Regions from separate parts of the Homo sapiens genome. Here all the other regions are linked to region 7. The links are contacts of gene promoters, found by promoter capture Hi-C in human tissues and cell types (Jung and others, 2019). All regions are on one chromosome and are shown on one strand. The core of a region is centred on a gene start or on the middle of the fragment in contact, and the rest is flanking DNA. Distances in the headings are between cores, read along the strand shown.

Region 1 (4,076 bases), core at 113-2,612, 260 kb after region 7:
TTGGACAAAAAATTGGACAAAACACATAAACAAAGCAAGGAAACAATGAAACAACAAAAGCAGAGATTTACTGAAAATGAAAGTACACTCCACAGTGGGGAGCGGGCCTGAGCATAGGGGCTCAAGGGCCCTGTTACAGAATTTCTGAAGGTTTAAATACCCTCTAGAGGATTCCACTGGTTACTTGGTGTACACCCTATGTAAATGAAGAGAATGAAGTAAAGTTACAAACTCATTTACTCAGCATACACCCTATGGAGAGGATCTTTCCTGTTATAGCTAAAGTGTGAATCAGCCTTATGTTCCCTGCCTCCAGACCCTATTTTCCTGCCTCAAATCTCTAATACTTGATTTTGATGATTTAACTGTTGATCCCAATGCAAATATAAAAGACTTTGTAAAGCATAGACTATACTATATATTAATTCAAGGAATGTCAGGGCATGTACTGATGTTGAATTCTGAGAATCATGTGCTTTTGTACAGAACAAAGTCTGTTTGTTGAAATATTTTGAGTTAAAATACTCCCTAAAACTCCTTAATAAAGGGAATTACATAATCTGTTAATTGATTTGTGGAACGGCAGTGAAAGAGGCTGTATTAGACGACTTGAAAACACTCATATTTGGAGCTTAACGAAAATACTCCTGCTCTCCAGAGATGAAATGTTAGTGAGAGCAGCAAATAATTTATTTTTATATGCTGGATTTGCGTATTTGAGACCATCTATTAATACTGTTCTTTAGGACCTCAACCTAGTCGTCTAAGACATCCTTATTAAACGAGACCAATAGATATCATTTAATATTGAAAATATTGTTAATGCCCTTCAAAATCTTTCGAAGGAATAAACATTAAAAACTAGAAATTCTTTGTAAAATTTTGCGGTTTAAAATAATACTCGGTTTCAAATTAGTGGGTGCCTCATTTATCATAAATTATAAAAGAGAATCTAACAGTTATTGGCTACATTCTAGGCACGGGGTAACGCTTTACTATTCTTCTAACCAAAAACATACATGTATCTAAGTATCCCATGTAAGGTATCATTGAACCACACAAAACCCTATGAAATACTGGCAGGGGGCGGTGGCTCACGCCTGTAATCCCAGCACATTGAGAGGCCGAGGCAGGAGGATAATTTGAGCCCTCAGGAGTTCAAGACCAGCCTGGGCAACAGTCTCTTCACCATCAAATCCAGGAGAATTAATTTCTACTGTTAGAGCAGTCAACTAAAGGACAGCTCGCGATATTACACAAACTACTACTCCCAACATGCAAAGCGGTTTCTTTCCCTCTGTCCCCGCCCGGCCGTCCGAGAGCCCCAGCAGGCCTCGGGGCGCGAAAGGCAACCTGGGAGCAGTAGTTCTCCCGGGCGCCTAGCGGGATCGCCAGCGCGGCAGTGGGGGCTTCCGCGGCTGCAAGCCAGCGGGTCCTGTGAGGGCGAGCGGAGGCGGAGAAAGGGCGCGGGAGTGAGAGAGGGTGAGTCAGCCACTGTCTATGCAATAAAGGGAGGCCTCACCGCGGGATAGGGCTGAATTCAGAAGTGCGGCCCGTGCCGCAGTCTGTTCCAGGACGCGGCTTGTCTTAGCGTCAGCGAGGGAAGGTTGAGGAGGAGCCAGAGCCTGGTCCTGCAGCCTTTCTCGCCGTCAGCGCCCGTCGCCATCTCCACCATGCAGTCCCGGGAAGACGTCCCGCGCTCTCGCCGCCTCGCCAGTCCCCGTGGTGGGAGGCGGCCCAAGAGGATTTCCAAGCCCTCGGTTTCGGCCTTTTTCACGGGTCCAGAGGAGTTAAAGGACACGGCCCATTCTGCAGCCCTGCTGGCACAGCTCAAGTCCTTCTACGACGCGCGGCTGCTGTGTGATGTGACCATCGAGGTGGTGACGCCTGGCAGCGGGCCTGGCACGGGTCGCCTCTTTTCCTGCAATCGCAACGTGCTAGCAGCTGCGTGTCCCTACTTCAAGAGCATGTTCACAGGTGGCATGTACGAGAGCCAGCAGGCCAGCGTGACCATGCACGATGTGGACGCCGAGTCCTTCGAGGTGTTGGTCGACTACTGCTACACGGGTCGTGTGTCTCTCAGTGAGGCCAATGTGCAGCGCCTGTACGCGGCCTCCGACATGCTACAGCTGGAATATGTGCGGGAAGCCTGTGCCTCCTTCTTAGCCCGACGTCTTGACCTGACCAACTGCACCGCCATCCTCAAGTTTGCAGACGCCTTCGACCATCACAAGCTTCGATCTCAGGCCCAGTCCTACATAGCTCACAACTTCAAGCAGCTCAGCCGAATGGGTTCAATTCGGGAGGAGACTCTAGCAGATCTAACCCTGGCCCAGCTGCTGGCTGTCCTACGCCTGGATAGTCTGGACATAGAGAGTGAGCGGACTGTATGCCATGTAGCTGTGCAGTGGCTGGAGGCTGCTGCCAAAGAGCGGGGTCCCAGTGCTGCAGAAGTCTTCAAGTGCGTGCGCTGGATGCACTTCACTGAAGAAGATCAGGACTACTTAGAAGGGCTGCTGACCAAGCCCATCGTGAAGAAGTACTGCCTGGACGTTATTGAAGGGGCCCTGCAGATGCGCTATGGTGACCTGTTGTACAAGTCTCTGGTGCCAGTGCCAAACAGCAGCAGCAGCAGTAGCAGCAGCAACTCTCTTGTATCTGCAGCAGAAAATCCACCCCAGAGACTGGGTATGTGTGCCAAGGAGATGGTGATCTTCTTTGGACATCCTAGAGATCCCTTTCTCTGCTATGACCCTTACTCGGGGGACATTTACACAATGCCATCCCCTTTGACCAGCTTTGCTCACACTAAGACTGTCACCTCCTCAGCTGTCTGTGTGTCCCCAGACCATGACATCTATCTAGCTGCTCAGCCCAGGAAAGACCTCTGGGTGTATAAACCAGCTCAGAATAGTTGGCAGCAACTTGCAGATCGCTTGCTGTGTCGTGAGGGCATGGATGTGGCATATCTCAATGGCTACATCTACATTTTGGGGGGACGAGACCCTATTACTGGAGTTAAGTTGAAGGAAGTGGAATGCTACAGTGTTCAGAGAAACCAGTGGGCATTGGTGGCTCCTGTCCCTCATTCCTTCTATTCCTTTGAACTCATAGTGGTTCAGAACTATCTTTATGCTGTCAACAGTAAGCGCATGCTTTGCTATGATCCTAGCCACAATATGTGGCTGAACTGTGCTTCTCTTAAACGTAGTGACTTTCAGGAAGCATGTGTCTTCAATGATGAAATCTATTGTATCTGTGACATCCCAGTCATGAAGGTCTACAACCCAGCTAGGGGAGAATGGAGGCGGATTAGTAATATTCCTTTGGATTCAGAGACCCACAACTACCAGATTGTCAATCATGACCAAAAGTTGCTTCTCATCACTTCTACAACCCCACAATGGAAAAAGAACCGAGTGACAGTGTATGAGTATGATACTAGGGAAGATCAGTGGATTAATATAGGTACCATGTTAGGCCTTTTGCAGTTTGACTCTGGCTTTATTTGCCTTTGTGCTCGTGTTTATCCTTCCTGCCTTGAACCTGGTCAGAGTTTTATTACTGAGGAAGATGATGCACGGAGTGAGTCTAGTACTGAATGGGACTTAGATGGATTCAGTGAGCTGGACTCTGAGTCAGGAAGTTCAAGTTCTTTTTCAGATGATGAAGTCTGGGTGCAAGTAGCACCTCAGCGAAATGCACAGGATCAGCAGGGTTCTTTGTAAATAGTATTTTGAGACACTAAGATGTTTCTACTGCTACGGAATGTATTTTAAACACATATCGTTTCTTTTTCTTGGAAAAAAAGTTGATTAGGACCACAGATTTGGTTTAGAAAGGGTAATATTTTGAAATACTACAAGGTTTAGACAGTCCATGAAATCGACCTGTTTAATAATTTACCATCCTGAAAGTCCAGAATTAAAATATGGAAGCAAGAACTATATAATTGATTAGGATGCTTGGTAGGTTTTTTTCATTGTTCAAATATTCATTGCACAGTGGATTGTTTTGATTAGTTAGTATGCTTTTTTTTTAATTAATTCAGTCTTCTGTTAATTTTTAAGTTTTGG
Region 2 (3,789 bases), core at 131-2,630, 500 kb before region 7:
CAGGAGAGAGATCTGAGCCAAAATAGACATTTAAAGAATTAGTTGTATATGGTGTTTGAAGAGTACCCTTAACTGAAAAAAAAAAAAAGGTTGTATAGAGGTCAGAGTTGGGACATTGGTATGGATTAAATGACTGAGGAAAGTGTAGTGTAGTAACAGAAGATGGCCAAGAACATCAATGTTTGAGGCAGAGATGGCAGATGCCTGGTCCATATGAATGTCATAACTTTTCCCTTTTGTCTATTGCAGATGTGGCTCATTGATCACCACCCTGTTTCCCAATGAGTCCAATTTCCGTTGTGATTTATTTTTTGGATTTTTTAAGAAGCCTGTTGCTTGATTTCCAAATGTTTGGGGATTTTCCAGTTACCTTTTTGTTACTGATTTCCAGTTTAATTCCACTGTGGTAAGAAAACATAATCTTTATGACTTCCATCCTTTAATTTTCTTTTTTAATTTTTTTTGACACAGAGTTTCACTCTTGTTGCCCAGGCTGGAGTGCAATGGCGCTATCTCGGCTCACTGCAACCTCCGCCTCCCTGGTTCAAGCAATTCTCCTGCTTCAGTCTCCCAAGTAGCTAGGATTACAGGCATGTGCCAGCCACCACGCTCAGCTAATTTTGTATTTTTAGTAGAGATGGGGTTTCACTATGTTGGTCTGGCTGGTCTCAAACTCCTGGCCTCAGGTGATCCACCCACCTCGGCCTCCCAAAGTGCTGGGATTATAGGCACCAGCCATTGTGCCTGGTCTCATCTTTAAATTCCTTGAGACTTGCTTTATGGTCCAGCCTATAATTTATTTTGGTGAATGTTCCATGTGCATTTAAAAAGGATATGCATTCTGATCATGAGGAACCAATTACAATACTAAAAAGTGCTTTATAAAATACAATATTCAGTTGATAGGTTGAGAAAATAAAAACATACTTGCAGTAATACTTAAATAAATAATAAATAGAATATGCATTCTGTTGTTGGGTGTAGTGTTCCATAAATGTCATTTAGGCCAAGTGATTAATAATGTTTTCCAATCTTCTCTTTCTTTACGTCTATACTTGGTCTTTGCCAGAAGGCTGAGAAAAAATTATCCTTATCCTGTATCCTTCTTTATTTTTTCCTACTTCTTCCATTATTTACCAAGAGAGCTACTTAAAGCTATTAATATCTAGATGTGATTGTGCATTTTTCTATTTCCACTTTTAGTTCTGTCCGTTTTTGCTTCATGTTTATTTCCCAGCTCCCTCCCTGCCAGGTCACCATTATGGGTTTGCTGTGTTACCCAGAAGGAGGCTTCCTAACACAGTGACCCTCTCTGCTTGCTCTCTCCCCTTGCCCCTTCAGGCCTAGGGGCGGTAATGACTTTCTGTTATTGCTAGTCCTAGGATACTGCACCATCTTTTTTGGTTTCCGTAAACTCTGCTATACCTTTGTAAATAGTTCCCTTTTTGTACTCTCCTCAGTTACTCAGTTTGAATGTACTGTCTTTCAGAAATGTGAGGTATGAATTTTACTTTTTTTAAAAAAAAAATGGACAGCCAATTGTCAAGTTACCATGAATTTGTATAGTCTGCCCTTTTTCTAGATTATTTATTAGAAGGATGATGTCGGTCAGCTCTAACACTCAGGGAATGTTTGTAATGAGAACCTGTGCCTGAAAACGTTTTTCTTATGTTCAGATTAATTACTCAGTATCATTTTGTCAGGAGGCCAAATAATTACAGTCTTTTCAGGAAGTGAAATAACATTTGTAAAGACATCCTATTTGAAAATACTGTAACTATAATTCTTGAAACTACTCTGTAATAAAAGCCAGTAGATAATATCACTTATATTTGTAAGCAAGCTTATCTTTTAAAAGAAAAGCTACTGTAGAAAGTAGCTAATTTATAGGTTCTTTCCTGCATTAAGGAAAATAGGGCGAGATGACCAGTCAACCAATACCTGGCAGTAACTAAGATTGTACTATATGAGGCACTGCTGACCACCTGTTTTTTGAGGGTGTTAGAACTTAAACGACCAAATGATCTCAAACATGCATTAGAGATCATCTGGAGGGCTCATTGTAACACCGATTGCTGGACCTTAGGGTTTCTAATTCAGTAGGTCTGAGGTGGGGCCTGAAGATTTATATGACTTACAAGTTCCCAGGTGACGTTGATGCTTTGAGAATCTCTGTGATAGATTGCGTGAAGACAAAGAGTTAATTGGACAGGGGAGGAAAAGGGAGCGGTGCACGGGTTATGGAGGAGCTTTGCAGGCTTTTGAATTTTGGTCCTCATCATCTTTTGCCTTGCTTTTTTCTGGCTGCCAGTTTTGGACCTAGCAGGGATTTAGCTTTGTGTGTAGTCCTTATCTTCCTCTCTCAATTTACCACATACCTGTAATAAATTTCTTTATCTGTTAAAAACTCTGTTATGGATTTACAAATTTTCTCATTTGTAAAATTTCTGTCTCATAGGATTATTTTGAGAATGCAAAAAATACTTAGAAGGTAGTAAGCATTCAACAAATGTTGGCTATTGTTATTAGTACCATGATTTAAGGCCTTAGTGTTCAAGGTATCTTGCTAGCTTTAAACTGGCAGTGCTGAAAGATGAGTTTTGCACGACTACTTTTTTGGAGTGTCTCTGAGCCCTTTCCAAATGAAATTCTAGATGCAAATGGTATCACCATGCCTATTTTGCTGTTAGAGAGAGCACAGCGGGGAGAGATTATTCAGTTTAGTCCTCGGCTTTAGAAGATCACTCGGAAATTAAGGTTACATTAAAAAATAGAACTGTATAGAACTTACTGAAAACTTTTGCCTGCTTTTGCTTATTTCATGTAGGAATTCTTGGCTTTTATTTTTTATTTATTTGAGACGGAGTGTCGCACCGTTGCCCAGGCTGGAGTGCAGTGGCGTAATCTTGGCTTGCTGCAACCTCCGCCTCCTGGCTTTAAGCGATTCTCCTGCCTCAGCCTCCCAAGTAGCTGGGATTACAGGTACGTACCACCACGCCCAGCTAATTTTTGTATTTTTAGTAGAGACGGGGTTTTACCATGTTGGTCAGGCTGGTCTCTAACTCCTGACCTCAAGTGATCCGCCTGCCTTGGCCTCCCAAAGTGCTAGGATTACAGGCGTGAGCCACTGCACCTGGCCAGTTCTTGGCATTTATGCCACTGGGGCTTTATTCCTTTTATGCACCTAGAAATGTTGAAGTTTGAGGATATGTTGCTGGATAATTTGAAACTGTATGCAGTAAAAATACGGGTGTACAAAGATATGTAAAAAGGTTGAGGATCTGTGTTAAAGGTAACACTCTATGGGCTGGGTGTGGAGGCTCACACCTGTAATCCCAGCACTTTGGGAGGCCGAGGTGGGCGGATCACTTGAGGTCAGGAGTTCAAGACCAGCCTGGCCAACATGGTGAAACCTCATCTCTACTAAAAATACAAAAATTAGCCAGATGTGGTGGCACATACCTGTAATCCCAGCTACTCAGGAGGCTGAGGCAGGAGAATCACTTGAACCCAGGAGGCGGAAGTTGCGGTGAGCCAAGATCACATCACTGCACTCCAGCCTGGGTGGCAGAATAAGAGTCCGTCTTAAAAAAAAAAAAAAAAAAAGGCTGAGTGTGGTGACTCATGCCTGTAATCCCAGCACTTTGGGAGGCCAAGGCGGGCAGATCACGAGGTCAGGAGATCGAGATCATCCTGGCTAACATGGTGAAACCCCGTCTCTACTAAAAATACAAAAAGCTAGCTGGGCATGGTGGCAGGCGCCTGTAATCCCAGCTACTCTGGAGGCTG
Region 3 (3,735 bases), core at 210-2,709, 400 kb before region 7:
TTTTTATCTGGCCCCTGTAAGACCTCAACTGTGCAACTAACATTTACCTTATAACTCCAGCCTTAAGGGATGACTTGCAGTTTCCCCAACATGACTTGCTGCCTACCACTCCATGCTTTCTTGCACTCTTCATGCTGCCTGAACCACCCCTCAGAGCCTGTAGGCCAATTTGCTAACCTTTAAAACTTAGCTCCACTGCCTGCTCTGAATTTCTGTAAATCTTGAATTTAATTTATATGTACTCCCTCTTTGTTTCAGCATCACTTAATGGCCTTTTTCATGGCACTTATCATTCTGTACTGTAATAACTACTGTATTTCATTAGCTCCAAGAGGCACTCAATTGTAAGATGCACCACTAAGAAAGAAAAAGTACTTCAAATTAAATTACGATATAAGACTTTATCACTTAGAATTTTCATATTTGTCTTAAAGAACTCTTCCAGACTTAATTTAGATTATATTCCTCCTGTGCATGCAGAAAAAGGAAAATATGAATATAATAAATAGGAAAATATATATAAAATAAAAATAAATATAATAAATTTATAAATAAATATAACAATAAAAAATATTTTGAAATATTTTTAAAACTTATGCACCATCATAGTCTGACTCTTCTAAAGCACTTTATGATTCAGTTGCAGATGTTCATGTTGTTTCACGTATATTCTCTGTGTGTTCCTTTGGTTGGTCAGGAACAGAATGCTCTTCTATTGTTTCCCCAATTGTCTTCCAAGCTACTGACAGCCATTCTGCTGGTTTTGATACTGATATTTTTAAAATTTTAACCAAAGGTACTGACAGAAATGTTTTTAGGCAACAACTAGAACTCATATTCTTTTCCCAAATGGAAAAGAGTAATTTGTTGACTAAAACATGGATGGATTACAGTTGTTTCTTTAAGCCACAAGCTAACAAACATACTAACAAACAAGCAGAAACAAGTGCACATATATGTACACAATGGTAACTGACTCTTCAGCAACTGTTGTTAAGATTCTATCAATTGAAGCTGCACCCTGATTTCAGAGATATTAAAATATAAAACATGTATATCTTGGAATTGATGAAACAGCAATTTGTCTCTCCTATCGTTTGTAAGCTCCTTGAAGGCATGGACAACACGCTTTTCAACTCTGTTTCCTTCATGGACAATAGATGTCTAGTTGAAAAAATGAAATAGAATAGAAAACAGAAAAACCACAGAAAAGATCCGTGTAACTAAGAGTTGATTTTTTTGAAAAGATAAAATTTACAGACTTGTAGCTAGATGAATAAGTGAAGAGACAAGATTATAAACAAAAGAACAAACATCACAACTGATAGCACAGAAATACAAAGGCTCATGAGACTACTATACATCAACAAACTGAATAACTTAAAAGAAATTGGTAAATTCCTAGAAATATGTAACCTACCAAGACTGAATCATGAAGAAATGAAAAAATGAGAACAAATCAATAATGAGTTAGGAGATTGAATCGGTAATCAAAAACCTGCCACCAGAGAAAATCCTATTATGTGATGGCTTAACCTGTGAATTGTACCAAACATTTAAAGAAGAACTAAAACCAAACCTTTTCAAACTTTTTAAAAAAATAGAAAAAGAGGGAATACTTTCAGACTCGTTTTGTGAAACCATTATTACCCTGATACCAAAGCCAGACAAGCACACTACAAGAAAAGAAAATTACAGACCAATATCCCTGGTGACCACAGATACAAAACATAATAAAGGCCATATATGACAAGGCCACAGCTAACATTATGCTCAATGGTAAAAAGCTGAAAGCTTTTCCTCTAAGATCTGGAACAAGTCAAGGATGCCCACTGTCACCACTCTATTCAATGTACTATTGAAAGTCCTAGCTAAAGCAATTAGGCAAGAAAAAGAAATAAATGTACCCAAATCACAAAAGATGGAGTAAAACTTTTTTCTGTTTCCAAATGACATGATCTTATATATAGAAAACACTAACGATACCACCCAAAGCAATACAGATTCAATGCAATCAATCTCTACCAAAATTCCAATGACATTTTTCACAGAAATGGAAAAAAAATACTAAAATTCATATGGAACCACAGAATACCTCAAATAGCCAAAGCAATCTTGAGAAACAACATTTGAGGCACCACACTACCTGGTTTCAAAATATTCCACAAAGGAATAGTAATAAAAATAGCATGGCATTAAAAACAAACATATGGATGGATGGAACCAGAATAGAGAGCCCAGAAATAATATACTATTAATGGCTAGTTAGTTTTCAACAAAGGAGCCTAGAACACATATTGGGGAAAGGATAGTCTTTTCAATAAATAGTACTGGGAAAATTGTATATCCACATGCAGAACAATGATATTAGACCTTTATCTCATACCGTATACAAAAATCAACTAAGAATGGATTAAATACATAAATGTAAGACTGAAACTATAAAACTACTAGAAGAAAAGAAGGGGGAAAAGCTTGCAGATATTGGTCTGGGTAACAGTATTTTGGAGATGATACCAAAAGCATAGGCAGCCAAAGCAAAAATAGATAAATGAGATAAATGCAGATAAATGAGATAAATGCATCAAACTTAAAAAGCTTCTGCACAGCAAAGCCAACAATCAACAGAGAAGAGTCAGTCTACAAAATGGGAGAAAATATTTGCAAATGACAGCTGACAAAGAGTTAATTTCTAAACTGTAAAAGGAACTCAACTTAGTAGCAATAAAACAACCCAGTTTTAAAATGGGCAAAGAACCTGAATAGACATTTCTCAGGCATTTTAAAATATACTTGTTGGACATACAAATGGCCAACAGGTACATATAAAAAGTGGTCAACATCACTCATCATCAGATAAATGCAAATTAAAACCACAATTAAATATTGCTTTACACCTGTTAGAGTGGCTAATATCGAAAAGATAAAAGGTAACAAATGTTGGTAAGCATGTGGAGAAGAAATGCTTGTACGTTGTTGGTAGAAAGGTAAATTAGTACATACATTATAGAAAATAGTATGGAGGGTCCTCAAAAATTAAAAACAGAACTACCACATGATCCAGCAATCCCACTTCTGGGTGTATATACAAAGGAAATAAAGTCAGTATCTTGAAGGAATATCTGTGCTCCCATGTTTATTGTGGCATATTCATAATAGCCAAGATAGGTAATTAACATGTTTTCATTGACAAATGAATAAAGAAAATATGCAGTATATACAGAATGAATTATTATTCAGCCTTTAAAAAGCAGAAAATCCCGTCTGTATTAATCCATTTTCACACTGCTGATAAAGACACACCCGAGACTGGGAAGAAAAAGGTTTAATTGAACTTATAGTTCCACATGACTAGGGAGGTCTCAGAATCATGGTGGGAGGCAAAAGTCACTTCTTACATCACTGGAGCAAGAGAAAATGAGGAAGAAGTGAAAGTGGAAACCCCTGATAAATCCATCAGATCTTATGAGACTTATTCACTACCACGAGAACAGCACGAGAAAGACCAGGCTCCATGATTCAATTACTTCCCCCTGGGTCCCTCCCACTACATGTGGGAATTCTGGGAGATACAATTCAAGTTGAGATTTGAAGGGCACATAGCCAAACCATATCACTGTCATTTGCAATAATGTAAATAAACCTGGAGGACATTATGCTAAGTGAAATAAGCCAGCCACTGAAAAGCAAATACTACATTATCTCACTTAAATGTGAAATCTAAAAAATCAAACT
Region 4 (3,903 bases), core at 1,141-3,640, 410 kb before region 7:
CTACCATCAGAGTGAACAGGCAACCCACAAAATGGGAGAAAATCTTCACAACCTATTCATCTGACAAAGGGCTAATATCCAGAATCTACAAAGAACTCAAACAAATTTACAAGAAAAAAACAAACAACCCCATCAAAAAGTGGGTGAAGGACATGAACAGACACTTCTCAAAAGAAGACATTTATGCAGCCAAAAGACACATGAAAAAATGCTCATCATCACTGGCCATCAGAGAAATGCAGATCAAAACCACAATGAGATACCATCTCACACCAGTTAGAATGGCAATCATTAAAAAGTCAGGAAACAACAGGTGCTGCAGAGGATGTGGAGAAATAGGAACACTTCTACACTGTTGGTGGGACTGTAAACTAGTTCAACCATTGTGGAAGTCAGTGTGGCGATTTCTCAGGGATCTAGAGCTAGAAATACCATTTGACCCAGCCATCCCATTACTGGGTATATACCCAAAGGACTATAAATCATGCTGCTATAAAGACACATGCACATGTATGTTTATTGCGGCACTATTCACAATAGCAAAGACTTGGAACCAACCCAAATGTCCAACAACGATAGACTGGATTAAGAAAATGTGGCACATATACACCATGGAATACTATGCAGCCATAAAAAATGATGAGTTCATGTCCTTTGTAGGGACATGGATGAAATTGGAAATCATCATTCTCAGTAAACTATTGCAAGAACAAAAAACCAAACACCGCATATTCTCACTCATAGGTGGGAATGGAACAATGAGAACACATGGACACAGGAAGGGGAACATCACACTCTGGGGACTGTTGTGGGGTGGAGGGAGTGGGGAGGGATAGCATTGGGAGATATACCTAATGCTAGATGACGAGTTAGTGGGTGCAGCACACCAGCATGGCACATGTATACATATGTAACTAACCTGCACATTGTGCACATGTACCCTAAAACTTAAAGTATAATAATAAATTTAAAAAAATAAAAAAGAAAATGTTAATACTGTTTAATTGAAATTCAAGAATTCATAGGAAATACTCAGAAAGTGGTAAGTTAACAAACTCTTATTTTCTACTTCTTGCTAGGAAGTAACCTGAAATAATTATATGTCTATTGTTCTTCTGACCAGCTGTGATGTTGATAAGAAGTAGTTGCATTTGGGTTATAGTTTGAAGGTAGAATCATTATGATTTGCTGAAGGGTTGGATGCAGGGTTGAGACAGAGGTAAGGGTGATTTCAAGCTTTTGGACTGAGAAACTTAAATGATGGAGTTGGAGATAGAGAATATGGGGGTACCTTTCTGATTAATACCTTTCTGAGTAACAATCCTCTAAATTTTCCATGCCAGAAAATGATAATTCACCTTGCAATTTGAGGTTTTTACTATCTTAGTGTATTCTGGCCTACTATTTTTATTTTACTAAAATATTTTAGCTTTAATTATTTGTGTGGACATAACCAGTGTAGCAAGTGGCTCAGGACATAGTGTTTATTTCTGGAATATGTGTCCTCTGACGTCACTCCTGTATCAAGTTAGATTGACACTACTCTAGCTGTGGGAAAACATACATTTAAGCTCATTTATTTGTTTTCCTAGAATTTAATGAATCTTCGTTCTAAATTTTTTTTCTTTTTTTTTTTTTTTTTGAGACGGAGTCTTGCTCTGTCACCAAGCAGAGTGCAGTGTCACGTCTTGGCTCACTGCAACCTCCTCTTCCTGGGTTCAAGCGATTCTCCTGACCCAGCCTCCCGAGTAGCTGGGATTACAGGCACATGCCACCACGCCCAGCTAATTTTTGTATTTTTAGTAGAGACGGGGTTTCACCATGTTGGCCAGGCTGGTCTTGAACTCCTGACCTCAAGTGATCCACCCATCTCTGCCTCCCAAAGTGCTGGGATTATAGGCATTAGCCTTTGCGCCCAGCCATTTGTTCTACATTCTAATGAATTTAATTACTTGGGTAGGTCTTGCTCCTTTCCTGTTGAGTTCTCCTTAAAATACAGTGGAACTTTTTTTTTTTCATGAAATTAAGGTGTCAATAGTTGTTATTTGTCTACAACATGGAAGCAATTCTTGTCAAATTATGTGATACTGTGGGGATTTGCATATATAAATTGTATGAAATATAGAACTTTTTAATGGCAGTATAAATTCACAGGTTTTTTTTTAGGTTTGGGGAAAGGAGTTAGTGATTGTCTTGAGTACTTATGACATCAAAATGAAGACTTGAACTGGGATGTTAAGTTTAGAATGTTGAGGTTAAACATGATTTTCTTCCTCCCAAATCTATTTTCTGGAGTTCTTTCATTCTGCTGAATACATGATGATCTGTTCTTTCATTGAGTTTCAACTCTTTCACTATAGTAATAATGTTCCAAAACTAGTGTAGGATTTTGGGGGTTAATTTCTGCCTATTTAATAGTAAAAATAAATTCAGTTTTTTATATTGAGCATGCTGTTATAAATAAGGCATAGAACTTAATTTTCAATTTATTTTCATCTTTCACATACTTACCTGTATTCTTTCTGTGTAGTTTTGATATAGCTAGCTGGAATGAAGTGGTGTAGTCAATGTTAGAACGTTGATAATTGGGCCACATCAAGAATCAATGGTTCTAGCCTTTTTTTTTTTTTTTTTTTTTTTTTTTTTGAGACAAAGTTTTCGCTCTGTTGCCCAGGCTGGAGTGCAGTGGCACAATCTCAGTTCACTGCAACCTCTGTCTCTGGGTTCAAGGGATTCTCGTGCCTCAGCCTCCCAAGTAGCTGGGACTACAGGTGCGTGCCACCATGCCCAGCTAATTTTTGTATTTTTAGTAGACAGGGTTTCACCATGTTGGCCAGGCTCGTGTCGAACTCCTGACCTCAGGTGATCCGCTTGCCTTGGCGTCCCAAAGTGCTGGGATTACAGGCATGAGCTACTGTGCCTGGTGGTTCTAGCCTTTTAAATCCAGTTCAACAAATATTGAGACCCCTATAGTGTAGAAAGCACTGTACCATATGCTGTGGAAAATTGTTATAATAATTTTAGTTAAGCTATTCACATAGCTGACAGCAGAATGATGGCCAAGAAGTTCTGTTTTCATGAATTTCAGGTAACACATTAACTTCGATTGATTTAAAGAATAAACCAATATGGGCCTATTTCAGCATATTTTGAAGGGTCTCATCATCTCCTTCTAGGAAGTTGATTGTCAAGAAATGTAAACTATGAACTTCTACCAGGTCAGGAATTCAGTGATTCCATTTCTTGTCATTTAGTAAATTTTAGGGACTATTTTAATATGATCTTTAATAATTATTGTAAGTAGAATGGTATTAGTAGGAATAGAAAAAAATTTTCGTTAACTTTTTTTAACCTCTACTTTTTTTTTTTCCTTTTTTTTTTTTTTTTTTTGAGACGGAGTCTTGCCGTTTTGCCCATGCTGGAGTGCAGTGGCGCGATCTCGGCTCACTGCAAGCTCCACCTCCCGGGTTCACGCCATTCTCTTGCCTCAGCCTCCCGAGTAGCTGGTACTACAGGTGCCCGCCACCACGCCCAGCTAATTTTTTTTCTATTTTTTAGTAGAGACGGGGTTTCACCGTGTTAGCCAGGATGGTCTCGATCTCCTGACCCTCTGATCCGCCCGCCTTGGCCTCCCAAAGTTCTGGGATTAACAGGCCTGAGCCACCGCCCTTGGCCTAACCTCTACTTTTATATAATAATATAAAATGGATTTCACTTGTAATTAAGGTGTAATCTGTCAGATAGCCAATGTTAATGCTAAAATGAAAAGTAAATTGCATGATTTTCTTGTAATTTTACAGCGCTTTGAACTTCAAGATTCAGGAAGCTCTCTACTTCCTAAAGAGATTGTAAAAGTAGAGAAGATGATGGAAAACCATGTGTCCCAAGCTTCTGTGACCATCC
Region 5 (4,235 bases), core at 1,558-4,057, 340 kb before region 7:
GAGTAATTTCAAATTATGAACAATTTTATAGTAATCATACCTTTTACTATCAAGGTAACATTATTGTGATCCTAGAATGAATCATTTTTAGATGCATTTTATTTATTTTTTTCTTTATTTTTCTTTCCATCAACTTCTGAGTTCTGAGGTACATGTGCAGGAGGTGCAGGTTTGTTACATAGGTGTGCCATGGTGGTTTGCTGCACAGATCAACCCATCACCTAGGTATTAAGCCCAGGATCTATATTAGCTATTCTTCCTGATGCTCTCCCCCTACCCGCCCACCTCAAGAGGCTCCAGTGTGTGTTATTCCCCATTATGTGTCCATGTGTTCTCAACATTCAGCTCCCATTTATAAGTGAGAACATGTGGTGTTTGGATCTCTGTTCCTGTGTTATTTTGTGGAGGATAACGGCTTCCAGTTCCATCCATGTCCCTGCAAAGGACATTATCTCATTCCTTTATGGCTACATAGTATTCTATGGTGTATATGTACCACATTTTGTTTGTCCAGTTTATCATTGATGGGCATTTGGGTTGATTCCATGTCTTTGCTATTGTGAATAGTGCTGCAATGAACATAAGCATGCATATAACTTTATAACAGAATGATTTATATTCCTTTGGGCATGTACCCAATAATGGGATTGCTGGGTAAAATAGCATTTCTGCCTCTAGATCTTTGAGGAATCATCACATTGTCTTCCACAATGGTTGAACTAATTTACACTCTGACCAACAGTGTAAAAGCATTCCTATTTCTCCACAGCCTAGCCAACATATATTGTTTATTGACTTTTTACTAATTGCTATTTTTCTGGCATGAGATGGTACCTCATTGTGGTTTTGATTTGCATTTCTCTAATGATCAGTGATGTTGAGCTTTTTTTCATGTTCGTTGGCTGCCTAAATGTATTCTTTTGAAAAGTGTCTGTTCATGTCCTTTGCTCACTTTTTAATGGGGTGGGTTTTTTTCTTGTAAGTTTGTTTAAGTTTCTTGTGGATTCTGGATATTAGACTTTTGTCAGATGGATAGATTGCAAAATTTTTTTCCCATTCTGGATGTTATCTGTTCACTCCGATGATAGTTTCTTTTGCTGTGCAGAAGCTCTTTAGTTTAATTAGATCTCTTTTGTTAATTTTTTTCTTTTGATGCAATTGCTTTTGGGTTTTCCTCATGAAATCTTTGCCTGTGCCTATGTCCTGAATGGTATTGCCTAGATTCTCTTCCAGGGTTTCTATGGTTTTGGGTTTTACATTTAAGTTGTTAATCCATCTTTAGTTAATTTTTGTATAAGGCATAAGGATGGGGTCCACAGCCAATATCATACTGAATGGGCAAAATCTGGAAGCATTCCCCTTGAAAACTGGCACAAGACAAGGATGTCCTCTTTCACCACTTTTATTCAACACAGTATTGGAAGTTCTGGCCAGGGCAATCAGGCAAGAGAAAGAAATAAAGCACATCCAAATAGGAAGAGAGGAGGTCAAATTATCTTTGTTTACAGATGACATGATCCTATTTCTAGAAAATCCCATTGTCTCAGCCCAAAAGTTTCTTAAGCTGATAAGCAACTTCAGCAAAGTCTCAGGATACAAAATCAATGTGTAAAATCACTAGCATTTCTATACACCAACAACAGGCATGCAGTGAGCCAAATCATGAATGAACTCCCATTCACAATTGCTGCAAAGAGAACAAAACACCTAGGAATACAGCTAACAAGGGAATTGAAGGACCTCTTCAAGGAGAACTACAAACCACTGCTCATGGAAATTAGAGAGGACACAAACAAATGGAAAAACATTCCATACTCATGGATAAGAAGAATTAGTATGAAAATGACCATACTTCCCAAAGTAATTTATAGATTCAATGTTATTCCCATTAAACTACCATTGACTTTCTTCACAGAATTAGGAAAAACTATGTTAAAATTCATAAAAAACTAAAAAAGAGCCTGTATAGCCAAGACAATCTTAAGAAAAAAAAAAGCTGGAGACAACACACTACCTGACTTCAAACTATATTACAAGGCTACAGTAACCAAAACAACACAGTGCTAGTACAAGAACAGACACGTAGACCAATGGAACAGAATAGAGAACTCAGAAATTCTAAGATCACACATCTACAACCACCTGATCTTTGACAAACCTGACGAAAACAATGGGGAAAGGATTCCCTATTTAATAAATGCTGCTGGGAGAACTGGCTAGCCACATGCAGCAAATATTCTTTTCAATTTATTTATTTATTTTTTTTGAGATGGAGTCTTGCTCTGTCGCCAGGCTGCAGTGCAGTGGCACGATCTCGGCTCACTGCAACCTCCACCTCTCAGGTTCAAGCAAGTCTCCTGCCTCAGCCTTCTGAGTAGCTGGAGCTACAGGCGTGCACCACCAGGCCCAGCTAATTGTTTTTTGTATTTTCGGTACAGATGGGGTTTCACCATGTTGGCCAGGATGGTCTCGATCTCTTGACCTCGTGATCCACCCGCCTTGTCCTCCCAAAGTGCTGGGATTACAAGTGTGAGCCACCGTGCCCGACCTAAATTTGTATTTTTAATTGACAATTTTACTATGGGCAAAAGGATTTCAACCTATGAATCTTAGGGAGGACACATTCAATCAGTCAGAAAAAGGTAATGTTTATTTCTGAGATTTCCTCTTTTCACTTCCATCTATTAAAACATATCTTTCTTATTTATCTCAAATGTAGGTATATTATATTTAAAGGTTCATGAGCAATTTGGAATTACCTCAAGAATGTCAAGGTTTGATATTCTGTTTTTTAATTCATCTTCTTATTAGTTGAGGAAAAATTATTCTACTAAATGGAGAAAAAGTGTTTGATAAAATTCAATAGCCAGCCCTAAAAACAAACCAAAGCAAAAACAAATATAACTTAGTAAATCTGGAATATTCTTAGTAAACTACAAGCAGAAAGGAAATTCTTTAATCTCATAAAGAATATCTACCAGAAATTTACAGCAAATATTCTTAAGGCAAAATACTTGTCACATTTTCTTTAGAGTTAGGACCAAAACAAGAATATCTTTCAGCACTTTTAGCAAGTACATTTGCCCTAGGTTATATGATTAGCTACATTAAAAATACAAGAGAAAATACAAATAAATTATTTAGAACAAATAGAGTTTAGTGAGGTTATTTATACTCCCAAATCAATGACATTTCCTATACTCCAGTAACAATCAATAAGGAAATATAATTTTTAAAAATTTCATTCAAAATAATAGTAGAAAGCTTTGCACAACTAAGAATAATCTAATAAATATCATGTAATGCTTTAATGGAGAAAAGTATACATCTTTATTCAAAGTTATAAAAGAAGACAAATAAATGGAAGATTTAGTATTGTAAAACTGTTTCCCTCCAAGTTGATATTTAGATATAATTAGTCAAAATCCCACAAGATTATAGTGAATTTGACAAGCTGGTCTCAAAATTGGCATGGAAGTATAATAGGCTACTAATAGCCAAGAAATTTTGATAAGATTAATGAGGGTATACTTAACCTATTAGATATCAATATTAATTCTAAATCTGTATTCATTATAATAGTATGTGTTGGTACAGGGAAAAACAAATAGACTATTAGAATAGATACAGAGCACAGAAACAAACCTACATATTTGTGAGAACTTAGTATATAAGATGTAGCATTGTAAATCAATGTTGGCTTGTCAATACATGGTTATAAATAAAGATTTTCCAATTTATCCCACACAAAAGGTAAAATCCAGTTATATGACACTATAAACTACTTTATAAGTTATAACCCACAAACTAGGAAAGATGTTTTGGATGATTTTTGATTAAGAAAGCACTGGCATTCAGGGACTATAAAGTAACTACAAATTAATAAGGAAAAAGAATTAACTCCAAATGGGCAAAGAATGAATAGATATTTATGCAAAGTTTAAATAATTCAAATGACCAATAAACATTTGAAAACATGCTCAGCCTCATTAATAATCAGTGAAATGAAATTTAAAATAATAATCAGCTATCATTTTATACTTTAAATTTTTTACTTGTAGTAACATTTTTTATGAATGGAGAGGAATGTAATTTCATCACTGCTGTTGGGATGGAAGTTTCAACAGTTTTTTTTTGCCTAAATATATTATTACTCTATGATTTGACAATTCCACTTCTCGATATCTGCTTTAAAGATAGACTTACATGTGTATATAAGGAGGTATATACAGGAA
Region 6 (4,268 bases), core at 616-3,115, 320 kb before region 7:
GTCCACATCTGTCACTCTAGCCCCAGTGATCTTCACCTGTCACCTGGATTGCAGCAGTAGTTTCCTATGATAGCTCCATCCCCACCTTATGCCCATTCTTATCTACTCTCCATTCTGTAGTATCTGTTGTCAGATTGATACTTGTAAAACTAAAATCTGATTGAGCCTCTCTTTTTTGCTGAAATTGGCTCCCCATTTCTGTTAGGTATAGTCTGAGTCTTCAGTACAGTGTACAGGATTCACTCTCTGCCCACCCCTCTATTCCTAAGCCATGGCCCCTTCTTTCTCTCACTGTGTTGGCTTGAGGCACTCTGCAGTTCCTTATCTATTCAGTTACTTATCTCTGCTCTGGTCCTCAGTACATGCTCTTCCTTCTGCAGGGAGAACTTCCTGTCCCCTTCCCATATACCCTCCCTTTAACTCATGGAAGAGAGACCTTCCCTTGTCCCTGGCTGAATAGGTTTTTCCTGCTTCTACTCCCTTTTATCTCCCTTTTGTCATACTAGTCATACCATATGACTGTCTTTGCAACTTGTCTATATGTCCCTTGAGAGCAGGGACTGTGTTTTTCTTATTTATCTCTGTTCTCAGCTCCTAGCATGGTACCTGTTACATAGTAGACACTCAATGTATGTTTATGGAGGAACGTATGAAAATTTTAGGTTTACAGGGTCCTGATAATTTTCCTCTATTGAATTTTCAGGCTCACAGTGAACAGCACTTTTGGTTTTTTAAATTGGTCTTAAATTAAGGGTAACAAAGCTTCTAAAGTTTGGTTTCTATTTTTTCTTCTTTTTTGTATTTATAAAAATAATACATATTCTTTATATATTTAGCCTCTCAAACTTATCATTTTGAAGTACTGATTTAAAAATAAAAGTAAAAATGGGCCAGTTGTGTGCTTTATTGATTTGAGTGCATAGGCTTAGAAATTAGATAACTAGAGGCTCAACAGCAACTCTTCCACATATGGTTGTGTGACTTTGGGCAAATTGCTTATCTTACTAAGGCTCAGTTTCTTGATGTCTAACCTGGGAATAAAAATAGTATGGTCCCTTTGGGCTAACGTAAGGATGTCATGAGATAATGCGTGGGAAGTGCTTCACACAGTGCTCAGTTCTGTCAGCTAAATACCTCTGTATCACTGTATAGTTTAAAAGTAATATTCTCTTGTTTCATTTTTTAAAACAAGAATTAAAACTAGAACAATAAATTATTTATGACCCTTTAATTCCCACTATTTGAAAAGTCCTACCTATTTTTCTTCACTGAACAGTAAAAGATGAACCTATATACCAGAGTGGGAAGATGAAGATCAGTTAACAGTCAGAATTTGGCTCTTGATATTGAAACCCAGGAAGTCACATTCTCATCACACTTTGAAAAACAATGGCTCTGTGGACATTCAGGTTGTATATAGCCCAAAGTACTTTGTAAATTTTTTATAAGAGTTTCACAAACTCTTTATAAGTTAAACCTTGGTGCACTCAGTGTGTCCTTTTCAGAACTTCTGCCATCACCTGAATGGCCAGAGACACAGAGGCTTTTGGCATCCCAGCAGCGGCAGACCAGCATGGAGAAGAGAATAGACCAAGACTATACAGAACTGGGGCTTGAGGAATAATTTTTCTAAGGTGCAGGTTTTTAAAAGGAAGATCCCTAGAGGTCAAGGTATGGAGTCCAAGTGGTTTTGAAATCTCTGTCATGGTATTGCTATCCTGAGGGTTTGGTGGGTTAGATGCAGTTGGTTTCTTGGCAAAGGTAGCACTTGCAATTGAGCAGGTAATAGATTAGAGTTTCAGGAGGGTCTTCTAGTTTAAAAGGTTGAAGTTAATGCCTAGCCAGTAACCAGAGAGACAGGAAGAATGTTTTAACCTCTGGAGGATTGGGGAGAGCTATTCAGAGTGAAGGGTGAAGTAGAACAGAGGTTTGCCTCTGCTTTATGATGAATGAAGCAGAGACTGTGAAAGTGTTTTGGAATTGTCCTAGGGTGCTATACAAACCTTGGCATAAAATCTAATATGCTATCTCTCTTTTGTTTCCAGTCCTAAAGAAAGGAACAAGGCATTAGAGCAAAGAGCTAGGCAGCGGGGTGGAGGGAAGGGCAGCTACAGCTCCATAGGTAGATGGTTGGACTCCAGCATCTGATAAGGATGGTCAAGCCCACTGATTTTCAAGCCTGTCTAGGACTGGTTCAGGATTCAGCTAGATAGAGCCTTCAAGTTGAAGATCCCCACGAAGAGCAAGGCAGGAGCCACGGGTTGGCACAAACTTTCATTTATCAGTTATTTTGCAAAAGCCATCTGTGGTCAGCAGATCACACTGTCTTGCCATCTTGTACTCTTATCCTGCCACTCTCCACTTTGGAGAAAGAAGAAATTACAAAGGGAGATTGTATTCAGTATAATTTGCTATGTTTAGCTGACCCTTTTCATATCAAAAGAGTTTTCTGTTCTTTGATTATAAACCTCTAAGACCATCAGTGTTATATTATAATACCAATGTTGAAGGAATGTTTTTTTGGAAGTAAATTCTGCTACCTATGTTCATTATATTATATAGTGAAAAAGTCTAACTCTCTTAGACTGTCATTTGATGTCCTCCATGATCTAATCCTGCTCTGCTTTCAGCCTGGTGTCTGGTTTCTCCCTGTAAATGCTTTTTTTCCTCAGACAAATTAAATACTCTGTTTCCCAAACATACCTTCTTATCAGTGTTATATTTCAACCTCTAATCTTTGCCAGCATGCTCTCTTCTTTCTCTTACCTTTGCCCATTCACATTCTCTTAACCTCAGAGTGGCAATGTGGCATCATGGAAAAGTAATAAGCTGGGTACCCAAAGACCTTCCTTCCTTTTCAGATTTTTTAACTCTCTGTGATAGTTGAGTAAATTGTTAGTGAGTAAATTGATATGTGTGATATCAACTGATATGTGATACTGAGTAAATAGTTATTCCTTCTAATTAGGGCCTTTTCTTTTTTCTTATCTATAAAATTATAGGCTTGGCATGGATATTTTCTAGGGTCTTTCTGGCTGTAATATTCTAGAATATGCTTCTTTAATAAAGTGCTTGTGAATGCTATGGCTTGAAGGCTTGACTGCACTCTCTGAAGTGTGATAGGTCACTTACAGATTTCTTTTGGGATTTAGTTAGATTTATGTATTTACCCACCATCTCTATGAAAAAGAGATAAAGAGTCTTCATTATTTTTGTGTCTCCCTGATGCCTTGCATACCGTAGACATTCAACAAATACTTGCTGAGTTAATTAGTAGATTTTAAAGGACTATCTGAAATAAATTCCTGGCTGGGTGCAGTGGCTCATGCCTGTAATCCCAGCACTTTGGGAGGCCAAGGTGAGTGGATCAGTTGAGGCCAGGAGTTTGAGACCAGCCTGGCCAACATGGCAAAACCCTGTCTCTACTTTAAAAAATACAAAAATTAGCCAGGTGAAGTGGCATGCGCTTGCAGTCCCATCTACTTCGGAGGCTGAGACAGGAGAATCGCTTGAACCTGGGAGACGGAGGCTGCAGTGAGCTGAGATCGTGCCACTGCACTCCAGCCTGGGAGATAGAGCGAGACTCCATATCAAAAAAATAATAATAAATAAATAAATAAATAAATTCCTAATGAGTAGCCAAAATGATTTAGAAGTAATATGAATTTAAAATTTAGGCTTAGTTGGATTGTTTTCAGGGGGCTATAAGACAAATTGAAATGTCTTTTTCTCTGAGCTTGCAGCTGTTTAAGTGAAGGAGACTAATGAATTAGATAAAATCTAGGGACTACCTACTCAAGAGAGTAAATAGTTAAGTAGCCCATTCAACTGGATATAGTTCTATAATGACAGGATCAGAGACTGGCAGCATTATCACTAAGACAGAATAATGAAATGCTAATTATTTTTAAATTTCTAATAATAAAGTGCTGATTAGTATTTAGCTAATTAAATCATACATAACTTTGCCTGTGCTTGCATTTACCAGGTCAAGGGGTGGAAATTGGACCAAGGCAGCTGGTTAAAATCTAAATAGAACTGTTTGAATCCTTTAGCCAACTTCAATTCCTTTCTAATGTGTTTTCATAAGGTAACATCTGTGCTAAGATCTGGGCAAGATTCTATGGTTAGACTCTTAGCTGCTTCTGTTTGGTGGGTACGAGGGAGTACAGAGCCACCTGTAGTATTCCTTGACTAATGCAGTACCCCACAGAACTGTGCTTTGCTAAGGACTGGCATAGAGTTTGTGTTCTCTTTCTCTGTGCTGT
Region 7 (4,262 bases), core at 76-2,575:
TCTGCGCCCTCCCATGTCCCCACTGTGCCCCCTCATTCCACTGGCACTTGTTCCACATCTGCAAAGTTACAGCTGAGAGGGGAGAGGCACGGAAAGGAGAAGAGGAGGGAAACTGCGGAAAGGCCTGGTGCAGGTCCAGGGAGTCCTGTCTGGCTGAGTCGGGACAAGCTGCTTAAACTCGCCTGCCTGGTGACACACCCGTGGGCGGCAAGTGAACCAACCTGCCCTCCAGCGACCTTTCCCGTGATTATCGTCAGGGGCCCCGCCACCACTCGGCCTACTGCGTTGAGCTTCAGGAAACCATTCCTCAGTTTACTGATAAGAAAACTGAGGCCGCAGCCTTCGCGGGGCAGGTCCTGGGAGCTGGGAGATCCCGGCGCCATCCTAGCGGGGGCCGCACTTACTCTCCGAGTCGCTGAAGCCGCTGCTGTCGCTGACACTGGCGCTGCTGCGCCGCTTCATGCGCTCCAGGTGCTCCTCGTAGTGGAAGTGGCGCTCGTGGAAGGGCGACGCGAAGTCGGCCAGCACCGCGTCAAACTCGCACAGCGCGTCCGACAGGTCCTCCGCGGCCGCCGAGTCCAGGGCCGGGGCTGCGGGCAGGGCCAGGGGCTCAGTGCACGGAAGTCAGGGGGGCAGCGGGACCACCTCCCAGGGCCAGGAGGGGCCGCCACGGTTCCCGAAGATAACTGACACTTGGCGCCTCTGCCAAGTGACAGCCACGCAGTCGCTGTTACCTTGTAATCTTCTCCACCACCCCCGAAGTGCGTTCTATTACCAAGTCCGTTTTACAGACAAGAAAACTGAGCCTTCGCCAGGCCCAGGGTCACCCAGCGACTTGGCGCGGCCAGATTCCTCCCCAGGCGCTGCCGGTTACCTGTCCCCGCCGCTCCCCCCAACCCCGGGCGCGCGCGGAGCTGGTGGTGGAGGGAAGGTGGGACATGGGGGCCAGCCCGGGCCGGAAAGGAGGCTGCAGCCGCCCGCGCGGGAAGACCGGGGACAGGTTCCCGCCGGGGAGGATGGAAGGGTGGGGGGTGTGAAGGGACGACACGGGGCCCCTCCTTTCTCACCCGCCATCTGCAGAGCCGAGACTTTAAGGGGACCCCGGACCCCGCACTCACCTGCGGCCGCGGCGGCCGCGGGGCTGCCCTGCGCCGCGGGCGGCTTCATGAGGCGGCTCAGCTGGGCCCGGCGCGCGTGGCCTTGGGTCCTGCGAGGTGGCAGCCGGGGCTATTCGGGGGCTTGCTGTCCCGCACACTTCAGCCCTGCCAGTCCCTTCGGCGCTGCGCTCCAGCCGCGCCGCTCCCAGCACGGTCCGCGCCCGCCCTACCACCGGCTCGGGTTCCTAGATCTTATAGCCTTCGGCGGCCGGAGCGGAGGCGGGGCCGGGGCGGGGCTGCGGAGCCGGGGCGACGGGTCTGTCCCCGCCGCCCTCCGAGGAGGCCCCTGCCCCCAGGCACCGCCCTCGCCACGCGCCCGCCCTGGAACCGCGGTGACGAGGAGTCGCCGAAGCCCCGGTTACAGCCCCAAATATTTACCCGCCTCTCGCCCCCGCGCCCTGACAACCCGGCCCACGCGGTGTCCTCGGCGTCACCAGAGCTGACTGCTGGGCGCGAGCTCTGCTGCTTCCCGCCGCGTGCCAGGCACCTCCGCGAGCCGCAGCTTCCTCGGCTGTGAAGTGGACGTGGGCATGCAGAGCCTCCCTGGCTGGCGGTGAGGGACGAAGGAGCCCGCGGCCGTGTCCCAGTCGGGTGTCGGGGACGCGGAGGTCCCCTACGCATTGTCCCAAGGGGACTTCCGAGATGGTGGGCGGGCGGAGTGGAGAGGGTCGGGGCGAGAGGGGCAGGAGTTGGGGGAGTCCTGAACTGTTCCCACCGCGGAGCGCGGGGGCCTGAACTACGGTCCAGGGCGCTCCCGCCAGCCTGACTTTATCTAGAAGGGGTTTATTATGGGAAGAAACTACTGCGTCGACGCAGCGCGAACAGGGCGCCTTGCAGTGTCCACGGAGTAACGAGCCACCCTGCCCCGCGGCCTGCGGGGGCGAACGCCCTGGACTGTGCGCTGAGCTAGGCGCTAGCCTCTCGCCTCTCACCACAGACGGCTAATTAAATGTAGAGCAATTAACATGTAACGGAGTGAAACATTCAGCCTCCACTCCCAGCTAGTTTTTGTATTTTTAGCAGAGACGGGGTTTGTCCATGTTGGCCAGGCTGGTCTCGAACTCCCGACCTCAGGTGATCTGCCCACCTCAGCCTCCCAAAGTGCTGGGATTACAGGCGTGAGCCACCGCACCCAGCCAGGATTTGTTTTCAGAATATAGAAAGACCCATCTACAAAGTAATCACAAATAGACAACCTGGTAAAAATTAAAAATGAGCAAAACATTGAAACATACACCTCACAAAGGAGTATATGTTAATGACCACTAATCATATGAATAGTCCTCCTCTCTTGTCTACTCTGGGTGGCCTAGGGATATGCTTGTCTTGTGGAGGCACAAGCACTGTGGGCTCAAGAGTGGGGAGCCTCTTTCCCTGTTAAGGGGAGGACACCACTGGGATCTCTGGTGCCATCTCCTGCAATGGATCCTCTGATGTGGGGTCGAACAGAACTTCAGGAGTTGATTTCCCTGGGTGAGTGGAGCGGGATCCTTCCTTAGCTATCTGTCCCTTTGCTACTAGTATTGCTGCTGCATGCCCTCAGCCACTGTGGGGGTTCTAGCACCAGCTGTCACCAAGTGTCTATGTATGGGAACTGGTCTAGGTATCTTTACCAGTTACCTTGTGCCACGCCTTAGAAACAAGGGACCTGTCCAGGCTTCCTTCTGATGGCCAACCCACTTCTAATGGTGCGCAATCTATTTCCCACAAGGTTCTAAGTTCCCCTGGTGGTCTAGTGCTTAGGATTCGGTGCTCTCACCGCTGCTGCCTGCGTTCGATTCCCGGTCAGGGAACAAAGAAATGGAGCATGGATGAGCAGCGGACAAAACCCCTCAGACAGCGGATTAAAGAAGGAAGAGTTTTTTTTATTCCGCTGGGAGCTTCGGCAGACTCGCGTCTTAAGAGCCGAGCTCCCGGAAGGAAGACAGAGTTCCTGGCCCGTTTAAGGGCTTACAGCTTTAAGGGGTTCCACGTGAAAGGGTCTTGATGGATTGAGAGCACATGTACTTAGAGTCACGGGGGTTGATTGTTTCACCTCAGGCCGGCTCCTCATTGCCACCGGCTGGTCTTGACACTGACTTCATTCCTGTTGTTTTCCAACTTTTACTTCCTCCTCCTCTTCAGAGACAGGAGACAGTAGCGAAATGGCTTCTCTCCTCAGGGCGACAGGATGATATTACTCCCAATATCACAGGGGGTGTACACACCCCTATGAAACTCTTCCTACTATCCAGAGGGAGAGAGGATGATATTACTCCCAATAGCGCAGGGGGTGTACACAGCCCTGTAATACTCTTCCTAAAATCCACAGGGAGAGAGAATGATATTACTCCCAATATCGCAGGGGGAGTACACAACCCTGTGATATTGTTCCTAATATCCAGAGCGAAAGAGGATGATATGACTCTCAGTATTGCAGGGGGTGTACACCCTCCTGTAATATTTTTCTTAATACCCTGGGAGGGAGAGGATAAGATTACATTGAATATCACAGGGAATGTACACTCTCCCCCCTCTGATACCCTTCCTAATATCCAGGGGAAGAGAGGATAATTTTCCTCCCAATATCGCCGAGGCAGTACACCCCCTCCCCATGATATTGTTCCTAATATCTAAGGGAGGAGAGGATGATGCTTCTCCCAATAAAGCAGTGGGTGTACATTACCCCTGTGTTATTGTCTGTAATATCCGGGGCGCGGGGGGTGCAGGGGAGAGGATAAGATTCCCTCAAATTTGGCAGGTGGTTTGACACCCCATGTGGTATTGTTTTTAATATCCAGTGGGGAAGACAATAATACTACTCTCAATATCACAAGAAATGTACATCCCCCTGTGATATTGCTACTAATATCCAGGGATAGAGAGAATGATGTTACTCCCAATATCGTCAAAGTGTCCACCCCCCCCTTTGATATTGTTCTTAATATATGGAAGGCAAGTATGATATGACTCCCAATAAGAAAGGGGGAATACACGCCCCTGTGATATTGTTCCCAGTATGCTGTGGAGGAGAGAATGATATTACCCCCAATATCGCAGGATGTGTACACCCCCCTGTGATCTTGTTCATAAGGTTCAATAGAAAAGATAATCTTACTGGAAATA

Evidence for each region. The method cuts DNA at HindIII sites, captures the fragments that hold promoters and counts their contacts. A contact is called where the count stands out against the background at its distance.
Region 1: a contact is called between the fragment with the promoter of KBTBD7 here and the fragment with the promoter of RGCC in region 7, in 1 of the 25 tissues and cell types used here (adrenal gland).
Region 2: a contact is called between a fragment that was not itself captured here and the fragment with the promoter of RGCC in region 7, in 1 of the 25 tissues and cell types used here (mesendoderm cells).
Region 3: a contact is called between a fragment that was not itself captured here and the fragment with the promoter of RGCC in region 7, in 2 of the 25 tissues and cell types used here (IMR-90 fibroblasts and lymphoblastoid cells).
Region 4: a contact is called between a fragment that was not itself captured here and the fragment with the promoter of RGCC in region 7, in 2 of the 25 tissues and cell types used here (lymphoblastoid cells and spleen).
Region 5: a fragment that was not itself captured here is called in contact with the fragment with the promoter of RGCC in region 7 in 1 of the 25 tissues and cell types used here (mesenchymal stem cells).
Region 6: a contact is called between a fragment that was not itself captured here and the fragment with the promoter of RGCC in region 7, in 1 of the 25 tissues and cell types used here (dorsolateral prefrontal cortex).

Annotation. Positions count from the first base shown.
Region 1 is chr13:41,191,855-41,195,930 of GRCh38, reverse strand. KBTBD7 (kelch repeat and BTB domain containing 7) reads left to right here and starts at 1,362. Exons shown (of 1, transcript NM_032138.7): 1 at 1,362-4,076. The coding sequence starts at 1,674. The coding sequence ends at 3,728. The region is part of intron 3 of KBTBD6-DT (KBTBD6 divergent transcript); the gene reads right to left. RefSeq lists enhancers at 1,192-1,281, 1,592-1,861, 1,206-1,912, 1,913-2,620. The HindIII fragment of the contact is 7,226 bases long and covers 1-4,076 here.
Region 2 is chr13:41,950,485-41,954,273 of GRCh38, reverse strand. The region is part of intron 1 of VWA8 (von Willebrand factor A domain containing 8); the gene reads left to right. Among named protein-coding and RNA genes, the nearest start is that of VWA8, 8.7 kb to the left of the region's middle. The HindIII fragment of the contact is 3,084 bases long and covers 1-2,922 here.
Region 3 is chr13:41,851,290-41,855,024 of GRCh38, reverse strand. The region is part of intron 12 of VWA8 (von Willebrand factor A domain containing 8); the gene reads left to right. Among named protein-coding and RNA genes, the nearest start is that of VWA8, 110 kb to the left of the region's middle. The HindIII fragment of the contact is 3,996 bases long and covers 1-3,457 here.
Region 4 is chr13:41,868,375-41,872,277 of GRCh38, reverse strand. It overlaps VWA8 (von Willebrand factor A domain containing 8), which reads left to right. Exons shown (of 45, transcript NM_015058.2): 10 at 3,801-3,903. Among named protein-coding and RNA genes, the nearest start is that of VWA8, 91 kb to the left of the region's middle. The HindIII fragment of the contact is 5,241 bases long and covers 1-3,903 here.
Region 5 is chr13:41,791,846-41,796,080 of GRCh38, reverse strand. The region is part of intron 17 of VWA8 (von Willebrand factor A domain containing 8); the gene reads left to right. Among named protein-coding and RNA genes, the nearest start is that of VWA8, 170 kb to the left of the region's middle. The HindIII fragment of the contact is 5,753 bases long and covers 1-4,235 here.
Region 6 is chr13:41,773,482-41,777,749 of GRCh38, reverse strand. The region is part of intron 20 of VWA8 (von Willebrand factor A domain containing 8); the gene reads left to right. Among named protein-coding and RNA genes, the nearest start is that of VWA8, 190 kb to the left of the region's middle. The HindIII fragment of the contact is 8,096 bases long and covers 1-4,268 here.
Region 7 is chr13:41,454,613-41,458,874 of GRCh38, reverse strand. RGCC (regulator of cell cycle) reads right to left here and starts at 1,325. Exons shown (of 5, transcript NM_014059.3): 1 at 1,119-1,325; 2 at 405-590. The coding sequence starts at 1,167. RefSeq lists enhancers at 283-412, 462-1,139 and a silencer at 713-1,552. The HindIII fragment of the contact is 31,337 bases long and covers 1-4,262 here.